Regions from separate parts of the Homo sapiens genome. Here regions 2, 3 and 4 are each linked to region 1. The links are contacts of gene promoters, found by promoter capture Hi-C in human tissues and cell types (Jung and others, 2019). All regions are on one chromosome and are shown on one strand. Each heading gives the region's core, a stretch centred on a gene start or on the middle of the fragment in contact. The rest is flanking DNA. Distances are from core to core; before and after follow the strand shown.

The links. The method cuts DNA at HindIII sites, captures the fragments that hold promoters and counts their contacts. A contact is called where the count stands out against the background at its distance.
Region 2: a contact is called between a fragment that was not itself captured here and the fragment with the promoter of ZNF12 in region 1, in 1 of the 25 tissues and cell types used here (dorsolateral prefrontal cortex).
Region 3: a contact is called between a fragment that was not itself captured here and the fragment with the promoter of ZNF12 in region 1, in 1 of the 25 tissues and cell types used here (dorsolateral prefrontal cortex).
Region 4: a contact is called between a fragment that was not itself captured here and the fragment with the promoter of ZNF12 in region 1, in 1 of the 25 tissues and cell types used here (dorsolateral prefrontal cortex).

Annotation. Positions count from the first base shown.
Region 1 is chr7:6,705,522-6,708,332 of GRCh38, reverse strand. ZNF12 (zinc finger protein 12) reads left to right here and starts at 1,386. Exons shown (of 5, transcript NM_016265.4): 1 at 1,386-1,901. RefSeq lists an enhancer at 1,218-1,717 and a silencer at 1,411-1,770. The HindIII fragment of the contact is 19,528 bases long and covers 1-2,811 here.
Region 2 is chr7:7,561,886-7,564,818 of GRCh38, reverse strand. It overlaps MIOS-DT (MIOS divergent transcript), which reads left to right. Exons shown (of 5, transcript NR_110084.1): 2 at 495-582. Among named protein-coding and RNA genes, the nearest start is that of MIOS-DT, 2.7 kb to the left of the region's middle. The HindIII fragment of the contact is 3,978 bases long and covers 1-2,933 here.
Region 3 is chr7:7,644,894-7,647,899 of GRCh38, reverse strand. All of the region lies in intron 4 of RPA3 (replication protein A3), which reads left to right. The region is part of intron 1 of UMAD1 (UBAP1-MVB12-associated (UMA) domain containing 1); the gene reads right to left. Among named protein-coding and RNA genes, the nearest start is that of UMAD1, 5.6 kb to the right of the region's middle. The HindIII fragment of the contact is 8,445 bases long and covers 1-3,006 here.
Region 4 is chr7:7,620,124-7,623,136 of GRCh38, reverse strand. No RefSeq gene overlaps it. Among named protein-coding and RNA genes, the nearest start is that of UMAD1, 19 kb to the left of the region's middle. The HindIII fragment of the contact is 3,021 bases long and covers 1-2,867 here.

The sequences.
Region 1 (2,811 bases), core at 137-2,636:
CCATCAGGGACTTCTGCAAAGACCTGGAAAACCTTAAAACATAAAAGTAAAATCATGACTCTGATACAGATATAAAAATGAGCACATGCTAAAGATTTTATTTAATTCAAGAGGAAACAGGCAGATATTATAACTGGTTCAAAAGAGAATCTGAGGGCTGGACATGGTGGCTCATGCCTGTAATCCCAGCACTTTGGGAGGCTGAGGCGGGTGGATCACTTGAGGTCAGGAGTTTAAGACCAGCCTGGCCAACATGGTGAAACCCCCATCTCTACTAAAAATTCAAAAATTAGTCGGGCTTGGTGGTGTGCACCTGTAATCCCAGTTACTTGGGAGGCTGAGGCAGGAGAATTCCTTGAACCAGTGAGCCAAGATCTCGCCACTGAACTCCAGCATGCACAGCAGAGTGAGACCCTGTCTCAAAATTAAAAAAAAAAAGAGAGAGAGAGAGAGAATCTGAGAAACAGACATATTTTCAGATCAGGAATATTGAAATGATTATGTAAATGGAGAAATGCAGTCAAAACTGCATTTTCTCTAGTGGGGATTGTGGGAAGTCAACCAACTTCCACCAGACAGAACATAACTTGCATCGATTACCTACAGTTTTCAAAGAGGTGTAAAATACCTCAAAGATAAGGAACAGGGTTGGAATCAAGTAACATGGCTTTCTAAATGTGCTTCGTTTTCCATTAAGACGCAAATTTCTTCTTCTGCTTGCCTCATCCTCTTCAGGAAGTAGAGTTCTGGCTAATTTTTTTCTTCTTTCAATTCTGTACATATTCTCTGAGTTTTCTAGCTATCACTAATTCAAAGTGATTTGGAAAAGCTGGAATTCTTTTTCTCCTTGTTGGGGCGAGGATGGTATCCTGTCCCAGGCTAATCCTCTATTATTTCATCCATGGGCTCTATTTACTGAAGTTTTCGTTAAATGTGTCATTGTGATCATAAGCTAGCATGATGCACCCTCTTGTTCCATTTGTCACGGTTGCACATGGACATTGATTTTAAGCCTTGAGCTCTCCGGTAAGGCAGGACTGGCCCAGGCATGGTCTACGAGATGCTACAGGAAGCAGAGACTTTCTAGACGTTCCCTTAAAGATAGTCAAGACATCCCCATGAAGACGTTCCCTTAAACTAAGGAGAAATTTGAGTCTGGGGTTCGGCGTTGCCAATTCTCTTAGCATAGAGCCTCTTAACCGCTAGACCAGATAGAGACATTTCAAATGGCTCCTAAATTTGGGGAGCGCGTAGGCTCATGGGAAATAGAGTCACGGTATTTGTCCTGGGACCGGCGGCGGGTCCCGGGAGGCGGACTTCCGGTGCATTCCTGCGCATGTGCACCCCTCTCTGTGTGCGTGTTCGCGCATGCGCGCCGCGGCCGCAGTGCCCTCGCTTCCTGTGCGTCCCCAGGTCACCGCTCGCCCTAGTTCCCAGGCTTTGGCCTCCGGTGGGCGAGAATCGCGGAGCCTGCGGGGCTGGGCGCCGAAGAGCCGGGCCGGCACCCAAGCGGGCGCGGGGCTGTGCGGGCCAGGCGGAGGCTCAAGCGGGGATCCCCGAGCACGACCCCCGGAGCCGACGGCGCTGGGGCCCAAGGGGCCGGCCGGGCGGTGACGACGGCGGAGGCGAAGGGGCGGCGGGACCCGGGCCCGGCCCGTGTGCGTCCTCGACGGCCCGGCCCCGGCTCCGCAGGACGGTGAGCCCCAGGGAGACGGATCTGGGCTCCGGGAGGGACGCCCCGCCTGGATTTGTCCCGTAGGCCCGGCCCGGGCCCCTCTGGAGCAGAACGGCCTTGGTGAGGTGGACAGGAAGGGACCTCGCGAGCAGACGCGCGCCCGCGACAGCAATCCCGCCCCGGCCTGTCGGGAGCGGTGGGGCAGAGGCTGCGGAGCCCCAGGAGGGTAAGTCGTGGGTTTGCGGGCCCGGGGCGAGAAGGGCCTGGGTGAAGTCACCGCGTGTAGGGCACCTTAGAGTGAGGGACAGTGGAAGGTCTCGATCGCTTGCAGGAGTGACGTGTGTTTGGGTTTGAAGGCAGGGTCCGGCGAGGACGAGGCTTACGGGGGCGTGGGGGGTGTCACCAGCCTCAGCTGCGGACGTTGTCTCCACTCCCCCCTCACCCCAGCAGCCCTTCCTCCTCTCTCTGCTCCAGATTGCTACCGTATCTAAACGTCCGTCAGCACCTCTGTTCTCTCATTTAAGTGCTGATTCCCCCTTAGGTCTGCTCTTGTGGAATCATACGTTGTAGTGCAGGAACAGCCTGCAGGAACTATCTCTTGCTGCCTCATTTGCTAGGGGAAGGGCCTTAGCAGGTGGGTGACTTGTCCGAGGTTTTGTGGGTGGAGTTGCTCATAGTAGAACTCTGGAGTTTTATCTCCCAGGCCAGTGTTCTGTCCCCCGTATCCTAGTTAAGTGAGCGTAAGTTCTTCAATAAAAGATCCTTTTGAGTAGCACACTGAAGTTTCTGCAAATAAAGACTCAATTATGCCGACTGTATTCCTTTATTTAGGGCATCCTGTGGATTTTCTGATCTTTATTTAAAAGAGTAAGAAAATAGATGAGTATTACAGAATTCATTTTTTGTTGTTTGTTTTTTGTTTGTTTGTTTGTTTGTTTTTGAGACAAGTTTCGCTTTGTTGCCCAGGCTGGAGTGCAATGGTGCCATCCCAGCTCACTGCAACCTCCGCCTCCCGGGTTCAAGCGATTCTCCTGCCTCAGCCTCCCGAGTAGCTGGGGTTACAGGCGCCCGCCACCACGCCCAGCTAATTTTTGTATTTTTACTAGACATGGGGTTTCACCATGTTGGCCAGGCTG
Region 2 (2,933 bases), core at 8-2,507, 860 kb before region 1:
CTCCCTTGAATTCACTCCATTCAGTCCTTCATGCCCACCATGCCACGAAACTGCCACTTGTCAAGGTCACCTGTGAGCTCCATGCTGCCAGTTTCAATGGCCAAAGCTTCACTCTTGCAACTTCTGTTGTTCTTGACTACTTCCTCTCTTGACATGTCTCATTCACTTTGTTGCATATCATCACTTTCTTCTGGTTTGTCTTTTATCCCTGTGACTTCACTGTTCCTTAAACATGACAAGCATGCTCTTGCCTCAGGGCTTCTTCACTAGCTATTCCCTCTGTCTGGAATGCAGAAATCTACATGACTCATACTCTCCCTTTACTCAAGACTGCTCACTTGTCACTGACTACCTATAAATTAGCTCCTTTGTTGTTGTCTTTATGACACCACAACTTCACATACGTCGCCATCTCTTTACTTTCCTATAGTTATCTTCTAGACTGTGTCTTCTCCTTATCTCCAGTTTTCATTCTGTATTTTTTTTCTTTTTAGTAAGAGGAAATAACTCTACATTCAAATTTGAGCAGGGCACTTGGTGACCTACTTAGACATGACATTCCTTGGCCTCCCTTTCAGCAAGGTAAGGCTATATCAAAAAGTTATGTCCTGTAAGATGTGAGTAGAACTGGATCATGTCCCTTAAAAGGAAAGCTGCTTGCTATACACTTTCTCTTCCCTCTTCTTGCTGTCTGGCAAATGGCAAAAAGAAATACAGACTGGAAATGGAAGCCATGTATTAAGGAAGGCAAAGCTGTTCTCACTAGCCTAAGTCCCAAACTAATCTCAGGGAGCTGGGGCACCTCCTCCCTTGGATCAACCACAGACTTCTGGACCATTATGCAAGAGAAAATAAACTTTGTTCTTTAAAAAATCATTGTTTGTTTGGACCTGGTAGAGCAGCTTAGCCAATTCCCTAATTAAAACAGAGGGGCTCTGTCTATTTTATTCTCTGCTTAATCACCAGGATGTAAAACAGTACCTAATAAATGTGGTAAATAAAAATGTATTGAATAAATCCTAAAACAACGTATTTATTCTACATCCTCCTCCAGCTAATGTCCCTTTTTCAACTTTCTTTTCCACTCAAGCTTTGTGAAAGTATATATTTTTTCATATTGCCACTAATTCTTCTAAAGCCCCTCACAGGAATAAGTGACACCTTTCTCAGTCTTTTTGGAAACTGATTCCCCTTCTCTACTAAACCAAGATCCTTGCAGGTAGCAATCTTTTAGCATGGAACTTTGGATTTCCCTTAGCACCTGTTGCATAGGTATCCAAAAAATATTTACTGAGTTGAGTGAGTGCTTTGTATCTTTGGAAACAGTAAACCGTAGCAGAGAACTTGACAGACTGGTCTGAGATTACACTAGTTGCCTTTACTAAACATGCGTTTTACAATAGATCCTAGGGCCACTGTAGTTCAGTCTCGGTATTTTGTTTGTTTTTAATTTAAGCTTTTGTATTCCTAATAGGATTTTTTTATTGTTGTTTTTTTGAGATGGAGCCTCGCTCTGTCGCCCAGGCTGGAGTGCTGTGGTGTAGTCTCAACTCACCACAATCACTGCCTCCCAGGTTCAAGTGATTCTCCTGCCTCAGCCTCCTGAGTAGCTGGGATTACAGGCATGCGCCACCATGCCTGGCTAATTTTTATATTTTCAGTAGAGATGGGATTTCACCATGTTGGCCAGGCTGGTCTCGAACTCCTGACCTCAAGTGATCTGCCTGCCTCATCCTCCCAAAGTGCTGGGATTACAGGCATGAGCCACTGCGCTTGGCCAGGATGTTCTTTTTAAGATTCTTCATTTATGTTGTGGTGATCCAGGAGAGGATTTTTGTTGTGGTTTTAAAACCAGAAGGATTGCAGTTGAAGGACAGCGAATTTCTTTCTTATTTACAGCTGCTCCTGGCAGCAATTCAGTTACTACAGTACTGGAACATTTTGTGAAGTCTGTGACTGGCTAATCCCAATTCTTTTTATTTCCACATGCACAAAATCAGTCTGTACCTGAGAGCAAGTTTTGCTTTTAGATGGAGGCTGGGCAGGTATCAAGCTGAAATGAAGCCCTGTAAACATGTGCCATGGCTTAGGTAATCTTTTCACATAGGTTGAAGATCAGAAGATCAGAGATATCTTAAAATAATGGCCTTCAAAAACTTTTCTAGAATATCCCCAAATAAATTTTTTAAATCAATGCATTTCTTCATGCATTTTGGGATTACACCTAACATTGTCAAAACAAATTTACATAGTTGTCAAGTATATGATTTGTAATATTTTTTAAATCTTTAAATTATAAGCAAAACAGGGCTGGGTGTGGTGGCTCATGCTTGTAATCCCAGCACTTTGAGAGGCCGAGGCAGGTGGATCACCTGAGGTCAGAAGTTCAGGACTAGTCTGGCCAACATGGTGAAAGCCCGTCTCTATTAAAAATACAAAAATTAGCAAGGCATGGTGGTGCGCACTTGTAGTCCCAGCTACTTGGGAGGCTGAGGCAGGAAAATCGCTTGAATGCGGGAGGCAGAGGTTGCAGTGAGTCAAGACTATGCCACTGCACTCCAGCCTGGGCAACAGAGTGAGACTCTGTCTCCAAAAAAAAAAAAAAAAAAAAAAGTTTTTGGAAAAATTTGACAAAGCATATCATGTGAATTCAGATTTACCTCAATACCAAGAATTATGTTTAAATAGGACAAGGAAGATTTTTTAAGTTTTTATTTTAAGTTTAGGGGTACATGTGCAGGTTTGCCATATAGGTAAACTCATGTTATGGGGGTTTGTTATATAGATTATTTAGTTACTCAGGGATTAAGCCTAGTACCTGTTATTTTCCCTGATTCTCTCCCTTGTCTCACCCTCCACCCCTGGTAGGCCCTAATGTCTGTTGTTTCCCTCTATGCGTCCATGTGTTCTCATCTTTTAGCTTCCGCTTATAA
Region 3 (3,006 bases), core at 332-2,831, 940 kb before region 1:
GGCACAGTGACTCACACCTGTAATCCTAGCACTCTGAGAGGCCAAGGAGGGAGGCTTGCTTGAGCCTAGCAGTTATGGACCAGCCTGGGCAACAAAGAAAGAACCCGTCTCTACAAAAGAAAGATTTTATTTTAAATTAGCTGGGTGTGATGGCACGTGCCTGCAGTCCCAGCTACTCAGAAAGCTGAGCCTTGAGCTCAGGAGTTCAAGGCTGCATTGCACCACAATCACGCCACTGCAGTCCAGCCTCAGCAACAGAGGAAGACCCTGTCTCTTAAAGAAATGTATATATATAGCAAAAGTCATCAGGGCTTCAAGGAGAAATTTGACAATGCTACCATCTATAGGCTATGTCACATATTTATCGATAATTGAGATATTAAGCAGACAAAAAGAAAACAGAATTATGTGAACAGTGCAATTTACACACTGGATCCAACAACTGGAAAATACATTTTTTTGCCAAGCACACATGAAAAATTGTCCATGTTCCTAATAAGCCTTAAAGCAAGCCTCACATAATTTCAAAGAATTAGTCTCATATAATTGCAAAGAATTAGACAAACCATACCCTCAGATTATAATGCAGTTTCACTGGGAATTATCAAAATAACTTTAATAAAACCTATACATTTTGAAACAAAAATAATGCATGGGTCAAAAAAGAAATATGCTGAAAACTAGAAAATACCTAGAACTTAATGTACACCTGCTTATAAAAACTTGTGGGAAATGTCTAAAGCTCTAGTCAAAGATAACTATAGTGATCTAAAAGGTTTTATAGGTGAACACTACCAAACACTCAATAGATAATTTCAGTTTTATGTACAATCTTGGAGAATAAATAAAAGAAACACTCCACACTAATTTCACAAAACTAGTGTAACTGATACGGACAAGCGGCAGAAGGGTGGGGTCCCTGGCGAGGGCTCCACCCTTAAGCCTGGACCCATAGCCCTAAATGTGAACAGGCTGTTTTTGCACCCAAATGTTGCCTTTTGGCCCAATATGTCACCCCTATTCTGTGCCCATATAAACCCCAAACCCCAGGCTCCATGAGCAGAAGAGTGGCAGAGCAGCAGAATGGTGCAGCAGAGGAGAGAAGAGAGGAAGCATCTGAGTGTCGAGGGGAGTTTGGCTGGGGACGGTCAGAGAGGAGATTGGCCATGGGACAGCCGAACTCCAAGGGAAGATCATCTTCCCACTCCATCCCCTCTCCAGCTCCCCATCTGTATTAGTTCATTTTCATACTGCTGATAAAGACACCCCTGAGACTGGGTAATTTATAAAGAAAAAGGGGTTTAATGGACTCACAGTTCCACGTGGCTGGGGAGACCTCACAATCATGGCGGAAAGCAAAAGGTACGTCTTACATGGTGTCAGACGAGAGAATTAAAAAAAAAAAAAAAAAAAAAAAAATCCAGCGAAAGGGGTTTCCCCTTATAAAGCCATCAGATCTCGTGAGACTTATTCACTACCACGAGAACAGTATGGGGGAAACTGTCCCCATGATTCAGTTATCTCTCATCGGGTCCCTCCCACAACACATGGGAATTATGGGAGCTACAATTCAAGATGAGATTTGAGTGGGGCACAGCCAAACCGTATCACCATCCCACTGAGAGCCACCTCCATCACTCAATAAAATGCCCACATTCACCATCTTTCAAGCCCATGTAACCTGATTCCTCCTCGATGCTAGACAAGAATTCAGGATGCACTGGGTGTGGGAACCCAAAAAGGCTGTCACACTGACTCTACTGAGCTATTTAACACTTAAGCCATTCCCAGACGGCAGGGCTAAAAGAGCACTGTAACGCCCCTAGACACTGCCATGGGGCTGGAGGCCCAAATCACTCACCCCAACTCCTGCACCTGCTCACCTGCATGCTCCCTCTCCCGTAAGGGGTTTGAGTACACGGCAGCCGAGCAAACGAGCCACACCCTGGTTCCAAGTCCCACAAAGGGGTCCAGGGAATTCTCCTGTCTTATAACCATAATGCCAAATTTTGACAAGGACTATACAAAAAAGGAAAATTACAGACCAATCTCACTCATGAACATAGATTAAAAAAAAAAAAATCCTAAACAAAAACAACAGCAAATCAAATCCAGGAATATATATAAAAGACAATATATCATAACCAAGCTTCCAAGAATGTGAGCTTGGTTCAAACACTGAAAAATACATACTCATTTCAATCATCTCAATTAAGGCAAAAAATGCATTTGATCAAATTCCGTAACAATTCAATTAAAATGCTTATCAAACTAGGAATAGAAGGAAAATTCCTTAATCTAATAAACAGAAATTCAAGTTGGGAAGGACTTCGGGGAATACTCCTTAAAGGAAGCTGAATGCGGGTCCACTTCTCTGCCACATAGAACGTGGATTTACTTGATAGCTGAAGCTCCATCACTTACCTGGCCTATGAGATAACCATAAATATGGAACTAGATATTGAATGTAGAACTACAGAAAGACAGAAAGAACCTGGGGCCCTGAGTCTTAGTGCACTACCACATAAGTACTAAGTTGCACAGCTGTGGACTTCTTTCACATGTGAGAATAAGCGTTTGTGCATTAAAGATACTTTTGTTTATGCAGCTAAACCCCATCTTGACTTAAACACTATTTCTATTCAAAATGGTACTGAAGGCTCTATCCTAGGCAAAAGGTAAGAAAGATAAATAAAATATGTAAGAATTCTTAAGAAACAAAACTATAATTATTCAAATATGAATAGAAAATTCCAAAAAAAACTGATAGAAAATTCTTAAAATGGCATTTCTATATACCAAAACAATCAGTTAAAATCTTTAATTTAAAAAATGATACCATTCATAATAGCAACAAAAACAAGGTATCTAGGAATAAATCTAAGCTAAAAGTCAAAACTTTTATGTAGAAAAGTATGAGACCTTTTGGAAAGATTTTAAGAGGACCAAAATGGCTCAAGGATAGTAAGAGTTGACATTCAGGTGTTACTTTTCCTGAAATACATC
Region 4 (3,013 bases), core at 108-2,607, 910 kb before region 1:
ATAAAATGTTAAGGTAATATAGTCTGTTTAATAATGGGCTTAAATGAATGGTTTTGTTAAAAGATCTTAGTATCTTTTCATCTGAATCTTGAAAGATAATTAGCAGGGAGAAATCTTCTGTTGAATAATTACTAATTAAAAAACTAGATAATTTAGCATTATTTTTACCTTAGCTACTCAATTAGGAAATATTTATTATTTAGATGGTGACATTTATTTTCATTAATTTAATTCTGCTTAACACGACATGATCATTTAAAGTTAAATTGTGTCAAGTAAATTTATCATAACCTTACAGAAAATCAGAAACAGTGCCACATTTCACTCAAATGTTTTCATATTTTTATTTAGCATTTGAGAGCTTTAAATGTTATGAAAATATTGGAACTGATGAGAGAATACATTTTCTTTTTAAGAGACGCATCTATTCTTTTAAGTGATCAGGGTCCCATTTAGTCAATTATTTTTTCCATATGGCTCAGAAATGTATGTCTTTGTTGGTCATATATTTGATTGACCTGTTATGAAAGGCAGACAGTTGACCACGAGTTGCCTCATTTTAGAATCTCCTTGGAAATGACTAAATGTTTTCCAGATGAACATACGGTGGACCAAGTGGGGAGCTAGGAATTAGAAATCATTGCCTCTAAACCAGGGGAATTTGTGGACTATTTCTGTTGGGACTCGGTGACCTCAAGGAATTGACCCACTGAGCAATTTCCTTCACTCTCCACAGTGTAAGTAAGTCATGAAAACAACTCAAGGTAACACATATATATTTATGGCTGCGCACAGTGGCTGACGCCTGTAATCCCAGCACTTTGGGATGCCACGGCAGGTGAATCACCTGAGGTCAGGAGTTCAAGACCAGCCTGGCTAACATGGTGAAACCTCGTCTCTACTAAAACTACAAAAATTAGCTGGGCGTGGTGGCATGCACCTGTAATCCCAGCTACTTGGGAGGCTGAGGCAGGAGAATCTCTTGAAGCCAGAAGGTGGAGGTTGTAGTGAGCTGAGATCACGCCACTGTGCTCCAGCCTGGGTGACAGAGTGAGACTGTGACTCAAAAAAAAAAATTATATATATATGCAACACTTGTTTCCACAGCAGAATTTAAGGCAGCTGCAAAGGCTTCTATCTTCTTTGCCCAATGTAAACTTCAGTTAGCAGTGGAGATATAAGGGGACAATCAATTTATTACTGTGTTATTTGTCACCAGACCACTCACCTGCCAAAATTGGCACTAATATCCCACTTTATCCCTTTTCAAGGAAAATAAAAATAACATTTCAATAGCAATAAAATATGTTCTATGTTGCTTTTCCTACTTTCTCTTCATCTCATAACCTAAACCTATTTAACATAATTTTTTTTTTTTTTTGAGACGGAGTCTCACTCTGTCACCCAGGCTGGAGTGCAGTGGTGCGATCTCGATTCACTGCAACCTCCACCTCCTGAGTTCAAGCGATTCTCCTGCCTCAGCCTCCCAAGTAGCTGGGACTACAGGCAAGCGCCACCACACCCGGCTAATGTTTTGTATTTTTAGTAGAGACGGGGTTTCACATATTGGCCAGGCTGGTCTCGAACTCCTGACCTTGTGATCCATCTGCCTCGGCCTCCCAAAGTGCTGGGATTACAGGTGTGAGCCACCGCGCCTGACCCAACATACAAATTTAAGAATACATTTTAAGCAGTACAGGGAAAATAAATGATGAGTATATACAAACTCTAAAATTCTACCTAAGATAATTTATTTTTCAAAAAAATAATGCTCCACTGTATAATCTGTTATTCAAAGTTGAATGGTTGGTACTTTTTAAAAGGAAAAATAGGCCCCCGCAAAAGGGCCAAAATACATTTGCGACGTTCGCCTAAAATAATTGGAAAATATACCAGTTATATACACATTTATGTTTTCTTAATCAAAAGAGTAGAAAGAAGTATAAGGCACAAAATGCTTCTAGGTATGACTCCCTAAACAATCTGGAACACAACATTTAGCTTCCATAATTTTAAAACACAGGAACTAGAGATAAATTGTCTGATAGATTGTCTTATTGGAAATTAGGTTAGGGGATTGCAGGGATTTGGAGAAAGAAACTAATGCATAATGACACCCATTTGCAACAAAAGAACACTTCAAGGGATTTATCTAAAATACATTTCAGAAATGGATGATTTGGGTTGATGCATTTGAATCTTTAAAAATTTTATTAGTTAAAATCATTAAGTCAGTGACATTTAGAAACACTGCTGCTGCCTTCTGTGTTCTCAACAGATTCTAAATTCAGCTACATGTATCTTGTGATTACAAGATATGCTTACAAATAGCAATAATTGTTGCAAAACAAATTACAGAGTGGCACAGGAAAACATTCTCCCTCCAACAGAGAGGGAGAGTGGATTACCTCACTCATATAGCCTGCAGGTTATATAATGAAGATTGCAGACTTTAAAATGAAAAAGAAATGTATGCCAAAATAGAAAAGTGATTTCATGAAAAATAAAGACAGATTCTTTTGTTTAGGGGAAAACACCTAAAGAATTGATGAGAAAATTCAGGCGCAAATATTTAAGTGTTTATGACTCTGTAAACTGTTTCTAAAAAGCTTATTTATTCATTTCCATAACTATTCATAGGATACAGTCATGCAAATAACAGCTTTTTCATATAGGGCTTGAAAATATTACAATTATATTGCACAATATTTCACAACAAATGTACATTTGTACATATACACAATATATTACATTTTTACATTGTATACATATAATTGTATTATAACAATGTTACATTTATATACAATACATTACAACTTAGAAATGAGTAATTTCTACTTAGTTGGATTCAGTATCCAGACAAAAGTATTACTGTTAATTTTAACCCATACATTTTAGTAAGAAGTGGACAGGGCATTAGCATGACACATATGAATTACTTCAGGGTACATTTTTAATAAGTAACCTCCAGGAAGTTGCCACACACATAGCAATTATCGCAATAGAGATTCCA